Regions from separate parts of the Homo sapiens genome. Here region 1 is linked to region 2. The links are contacts of gene promoters, found by promoter capture Hi-C in blood cells and fetal thymus (Javierre and others, 2016). All regions are on one chromosome and are shown on one strand. The core of a region is centred on a gene start or on the middle of the fragment in contact, and the rest is flanking DNA. Distances in the headings are between cores, read along the strand shown. Region 1 has its middle 160 kb from the start of ATXN7L3B. Region 2 holds the start of KCNC2 (potassium voltage-gated channel subfamily C member 2).

Region 1 (3,371 bases), core at 419-2,918, 520 kb before region 2:
GAATCTCTGCCCTATGTGAATTTTAAGAACAAATACAAAAACAAAAGTACAATATAGGCCTAAGAAAAATTACATCAAGGCAGAAAAGAAAACACCACCATGAAGACTTAGAGAAAATGCAGGCCTTTAGATGATTTAGTAAGAAACTAAAGAAAAATTTTAAAAAGTGCATCATTATGAATTAAGAAGATACAACTCTGATGAAATAGCAATAAGTATTCATAAAAGACTAATAGACAAACATCAATTCAAAATGTGAAAAATAATTGGATGAGAAGGATCTAACGAGCTATAAAATAAGCTAAAATAAAATATAAAGTAAATTATATATAAAGGTATTGATATTCCCTAATATAATACATTTCATGAATAGGATAAACAAAAACACTTAAAATAATAAATAATATTTATTAAGTGCTCTTTAAGTGTTAAAAGTCTTGATTTCTTAAAAAATCAATAAATTAAAGTGTTAGAAATACTGGAATATATATATTTAACATTATTAGAAAAAATAAGCCTAGGTCAATATGCCCTCATCCACTCTCACACATTTCTGTGTTTTTAATTATTTTGAGTTTCTTTTTTTTATTTTTTTGTATGTTTATCTCATTTAATAATGTTAGAGATTTCTCTTCAATTGCCTGATAATACTTGGCTGTTCCTTCATATTTAAGAATAGCACTATTGCAAACTCTGTGTGCATGAGTAGCCTTGTCAGCTAGTGGCCTTTCTTATAGGATCATCTGAATGAACTAGTTCAGGAAGGGTCTCCATCAGTAGGTGCGTTCTTACACTGTTCAGTTTTGCTTGAAATGAATTTTTAGTTCTTCTGACCATCAGGAGTTGGGATGAGGGAAAAAGGAAATGAGTAAAAGTAAATTCTTAATTATTCCTTCAGTTATTTTAGTATTCAGAGCCAGACTTTCATGGTTAAGTATACAGATTAAATTATCCCACTTTCAACAAGATTCTCCCTCTGAGTAGAGAATCTTTCCATTTCAAATTTTCCAGAGAATAGAAAACATCCACACTTCTGCAAGGATAAGCGAGCAGGGGAGCATCAAGGGAGGGAAGAGATAATCTTCGTTTACCCTAATAATTTTATGAACTTGATGAAAGCTCGTCAATAGCTTTCATCAATAGCACAACAAAATAGATGTGTTGGGGATATGGAGTTTAGTTTAAAACTCAAGTATATAAGAAAAAATCCATTTTTATAATTTGACGATCATGTTGAAGCTTTAAAAATTTTAATTTACTATAATATGAAAAACTAAATTCATTTTTAGCATATACATAGACAATTGACTTAAAAAAATTGTAAAGGCTATTATACCTACCACCCAAGTTAAGATATCTCCTTCACTGAAGGAAATGTTATTCTGAATTTTGTGTTTGTCCTTTGATATGGTTTGGCTGTGTCCCCACCCAAATTTCATCTTGAATTGTAGATCCCATAATCCCCATGTGTTGTGGGAAGAACCCAGTGGGAGGTAATTGAATGACGGAAGAAGGGTTTTCCCATGTTGTTCTCATGATAGTGAAAAAGTCTCAGGAGATCTGATGGTTTTATAAAAGGCAGTTACCCTGCGCAGGGTCTCTTGCCTACTGCCATGTAAGACGTACCTTTGCTCTTCCTTTGCCTTCTGCCATGATTTTGAGGTCTCCCCGGCCATGTGGAACTGTGAGTCCATTAAACCACTTTTTCTTTATAAATTACCCAGTCTTGGGTGTGTCTTTATTAGCAGTGTGAGAACAGACTAATACATCCTTTCTCTGTTTTGCTTCATCCTTTTTATATTGTTATTTACACTGTTAGCTTGGCAAGTGTTTAAAAGTTATACAAATAATATATTTCTGCTGAATATTGTGCTTGTGAGATTTATGGATATTGATAAATGCAGCTGTGGCTGATATATTTTCATTATTATAGAACATTTTATTGTATTATATTATGAATGTACCACAAGTGTTTTATCAATTCCCTTGCTGGTATACTTTTAGTTTGTGTCTAGATTTTTCTCACACACAGTATTATTATGCAAGCATCCTGATGCATATGTGCAACAACATTTTCTAGGTAATTATCCAGCTAAAGAAGCTTCTATAGGATAGGAGCAGAGATTTTGGAGCAGAAATGCTGAGCTATAGAGTAAGAACACTTTCAACATTATGACGTTGTGAAATTTCAAGATTCTGTAGCAATTTATAGTCCTGCATGCAATGCAGAAGTGTTTTTCACTGTTTTTCATCCTTACCAATGTTTATGATTTTTAAAGTTTTTAATTCTCCTTCGTTTTTTTTTTTTTCGAGACAGTGTCTCGCTCTGTCACCCAGGCTGGAGTGCAGTGGTGTGATCTTGGCTCACTGCAACCTCTGTCTCCTGGGTTCAAGAGATTCTCATGCCTCAGCCTTCTGAGTAGCTGGGACTACAGGCACGTGCCACCACACCCGTTTAATTCTTGTATTTTTAGTAGAGACGGGTTTCTCCATGTTGGCCAGGCTGGTCTTGAACTCCTGACCTCAACTAATCTGCCCCACTTGGCCTCCTGAAGCGCTGGGATTACAAGCCTGAGCCACCGCCACCGCCACCGCACCCAGCCAGTTTTTAATTCTTAATCTAGTCAGTATGTTACCTCCATATTGTAATGTGAATATACTTAATTACTAGTGAAGCTTAACAGTCTTGCAATTGTATTTTTTTCTTTAGTATGTCTACTCCAGTGATATGCCTGCTTATAAATTTATGTTTCTAAGAAAATGTTTTTTCTTTTACTTATTTACTGCCAGTTTCATTTCTTAATATTCTGCATATAAATTATTCATCACTTAGAAGTGCTGCAAATAGAAACTCTACTGCCATGGCTTTGTGTCTTAATGGACATTTATTTTTAATTTAATCACATTTATTAGTCATATTTATTTGTTAATTGTTTTTTGTATCTTGTTTAACAAATTCATCCCTTTTAGTATTAGGGATATGATGGTCAAAGATACACAGTTTCAGTTAGAAGGGAGAAATAAGAGATCTAATGTTCATCACAGCTGCTACGGTTAATGACAATGTATTGTATAGATGAAAATTTCTAAGAGAGTAGATGTGAAGTGTTCTCACCAATAAGTTATAAGTATGTGAGGTAATATTAATTAGCTTGATTTAACCATTCCACAATGGTTAAGTACATACTTGAAATATGAATATGAAATACATATTTTAAAACATCATGTCGTATACCATAAATATATATAATTTTTATTTGTTGATTTAAAAAAATACATAATGAGGCTGGGTGCAGTTTCTCATGCCTGTAATCCCAGCACTTTGGGAGGCTGAGGTGGGTGGATCATGAGGTCAGTAGATGGAGACCATC
Region 2 (3,168 bases), core at 124-2,623:
TCCCACTCTCCAAGACCCTCCTCTTTCTCCCCTTCCCCTAGCTTGGATGCAATTCTCTTAGGCAGGGAGTTTTCCTCAGGCAACTTGGCAGTGTTGGGTGAGAGCACACCCTCCCCCCACCCTGTGAAGAGCCCGGATTCCACACCCACCCTAGGTCAACCCCGGACCCCTCTCTACTCCCTAGCGCTCAGGGAGTGCCTTCTGAGCAACCTGTTCTAGGATCACCTCTACACCTGCTCACAGACCAAGCAAAAAGACAACACAGAAGTCAGAGAAAAAAAAAATCTCTGCTGTTGCTTTTCACCTAGGAGACCTCTGACTTATTTCCTCATTCGATTTCCTTTTCACGTTATTATTATTATTGTTGTTGATATTATTATTACTTGGGAAAGGAAACAACTAACTAAGATCCATCTTTAAGAATAGAAGTGATCAATGCATCCCACCCATCCCCCTTCCCAAGAAAAACAAATCCCTTAGTGGGTGGAGGGTGGGGGATTTGCTTTCTAGGAGGGGCGAGGCTCGGGGAAAAGCTGCTTGGAGGCACACCCCCTGGGTCCCTGAGCTGAAAGTCTCGCTGACAGTGTCCCTGTTTCCAGCCTCCCAGCCACCTCTCCCCAGGGCTTCATCTCTACATTCCTATTGCGGAAAGGCGGAGCGGGGGGATGCTGGCCTGCAGGGTCAACATGCCCTTTCCAGGAAATCGCCCCTTTCACCACCCCCGCCCCCATTTCCAGATACCTTAACGAGACCGAGAGAAAAGTGGTTCTGCTTTGGTTTCCGAGTGGACGAGGTTCTCTGGGCAGCGGGACTGAGTCTTGGCGCCCAGGTGAGCCGCCCTTCTCCGACGAGAAACTACTTGTTGGCGTTTTCCGGATTCAGGTGGTTGAGCCGCTTCCCTGGGCGCTGGGGTGGGGGAGAAAGCCCCCGCCGGCCGCCGGCCGCGCTCCCCGCCTTCATTCTGTGATCTGCGGATTTGCCAGTCGCCAACCTCCGCGCCCAGAGTCACCATCGCGCAGGGTTGGGCAAACCATGGAGCTCGGGGCGGGTCCAGCCGGCACTGCCCGACCCCTCCGGGAGCGGGCAGATCGGCTGGCCGTGAATGGAGTGGAGACTGGCCGCAGGTCAGGAGAGCTCACCACTTGAAGGTGAAGTCGCCCTGCTCGGATTCCATCTGCAGATTTTGTTTCTCCCCCAAATCAGCCACTGCTGGAGCTGTCCCTTCAGCACCACTCGCCATCAACCTCCCGCCGCCATCCGAAGCACAGGGCTCAGGAAAGAGTGGGTGGGTGGGTCTGGAGAAGCTATGTGTACCAACCAGGTTCACATATTTTTCTTCCGTGAAGCTCTGTCTCCACCCTCTCTGGAGCTTCTGCCTGCCTTATTTACACCCCACTCTCCACACCCTCTCTCTCCCCCCACCCCTCGCTATGCCCCACCCCTCCCAACAAGTGAGAGAATCTAAAACCAATTGCATTTTTTTTTTCTCAATGACAGTTGGCCGGAGAGAGAGGTCTACTAACAGGTGACAGTAAATATTGTTTTTTATGTCTTATGCATAGCTCTGGCTTGCTTTTTCAAATCAAATGTCAGTCTCCAGCCACCACACCACGGTTATCTAAAGCAAAACAAGTTTTAGAAGTTTATCCCAGGAAGATAGTGCTTTACAAAGTACAAGCTCCAGGGTTTCTTTTTGTCTGAAGCTGAAGAGAAAATCCACAGATACCCAAGTATCCAAGTAATTTTTTAATAAGCCAATTTCACCCTTTCTCAAGTTTTCATTGCCCCTTGTATTAGTTTGCTAGGGCTGCCATAAGAAAGTATGACAAACTGGGTGGCTTAACAGCAGAAATGTATTGTCTCATGGTTCTGCCAGTTTCAAATACAAAATTAAGGTGTTGTTAGGGTTGGCTTCTTCTGAGGGTTGTGGAGGAAGAATATGTTCCAGTCCTCTCTCCTTGGCTTGTAGATGGGCATCTTCTCCCTGTGCCTCTTCTGACTATTTTCTCTCCATGCATATCTGTCTCTGTGTCCAAACATCCTCTTTTTATAAGGATATCAGTTATATTAGATTGGGGCCCGCCATAAATGACCCCATTTCAACTTCACTATCTCTATAAAGATTCTATCTCCATACAAGGTTACATTCTGAAGTACTGAAAGTTAGGACTCCAATACAATTTTTATGAGGGGAAGGGGCACTATTCAACCTATAACAGGCCTCATCACCAAACAGATCGTGTGTGTGTGTGTGTGTGTGCGTGCACATGTGTGTATCTGTGTGCATATTCCATGAAAGAAAGAAAGAAAGAAGAAAGAAAGAAAGAAAGAAAGAAAGAAAGAAAGAAAGAAAGAAAGAAAGAAAAAGAAGGAAGGCAGACACTATTCTACAGGCATAGTTTGTTAGAATTGAAGTCCACCCAGTAAGGAAAACACCAGGTCCTCTGTGGAAGAAGATTTCTTTGATAAACAGGTATTGATATGATACTATGGCTTAGAAAAAGCAAGATTTGTGAGTTATTAATAAGAAAATTTTAGCAATATAGAGAGTGATAAGACAGGTAGTAAAATGTGAATTCACCAAATAAACGTCTATCTGTTATGACACATTAAATAGGTTAACAAAGTAGAGAACCAAAAGGTCTTTGGAAGGTCATTGATGTCTAGAAAATAAATGCAAAAGATGTAATATATACATTTATTTTTTAAATTACTGACAATTTTACAGTAAATGTGTAAAGACAATGTGTACCCAGCATGTGAGTTACTAACACACACAAAAATGTATAAGGCTTTAATGTGAAGAAAATTATTTTAATTTTGTACAATTATCAATCACTGAGGTATTTCCAAAAATAATAATGATAATAAATTTCAATTGCCAGAAAAATTACAAAGAAAAAGTATATTCACCTTCTAACAGTCATTCTTCCATTGTCTAGATGGTATCATATATTGCTTAATGTAAATTCAGTAGGTAAAAGGGGGAATGTGGTTTGCTTTAGAATAAATTAACAACTGTAATAGCAACAGAAGCATTTATAATAATAGGTATTTACTGAGATCCTACTATGTTAAAAATGCTTCACATAAATTACCCCCTTTTAATTTAAATAGAGAGAATGTTCACATTAAATTGCAAGACTGTAAAAAGATAACTCATACAGA

What was found. The method cuts DNA at HindIII sites, captures the fragments that hold promoters and counts their contacts. A CHiCAGO score of 5 or more calls a contact.
Region 1: a fragment that was not itself captured here is called in contact with the fragment with the promoter of KCNC2 in region 2 in 1 of 17 cell types (endothelial precursors); the score reaches 5.1 in endothelial precursors.

The regions. Positions count from the first base shown.
Region 1 is chr12:74,691,639-74,695,009 of GRCh38, forward strand. No RefSeq gene overlaps it. Among named protein-coding and RNA genes, the nearest start is that of ATXN7L3B, 160 kb to the left of the region's middle. The HindIII fragment of the contact is 862 bases long and covers 1,238-2,099 here.
Region 2 is chr12:75,208,466-75,211,633 of GRCh38, forward strand. KCNC2 (potassium voltage-gated channel subfamily C member 2) reads right to left here and starts at 1,374. Exons shown (of 5, transcript NM_139137.4): 1 at 742-1,374. The HindIII fragment of the contact is 8,191 bases long and covers 1-3,168 here.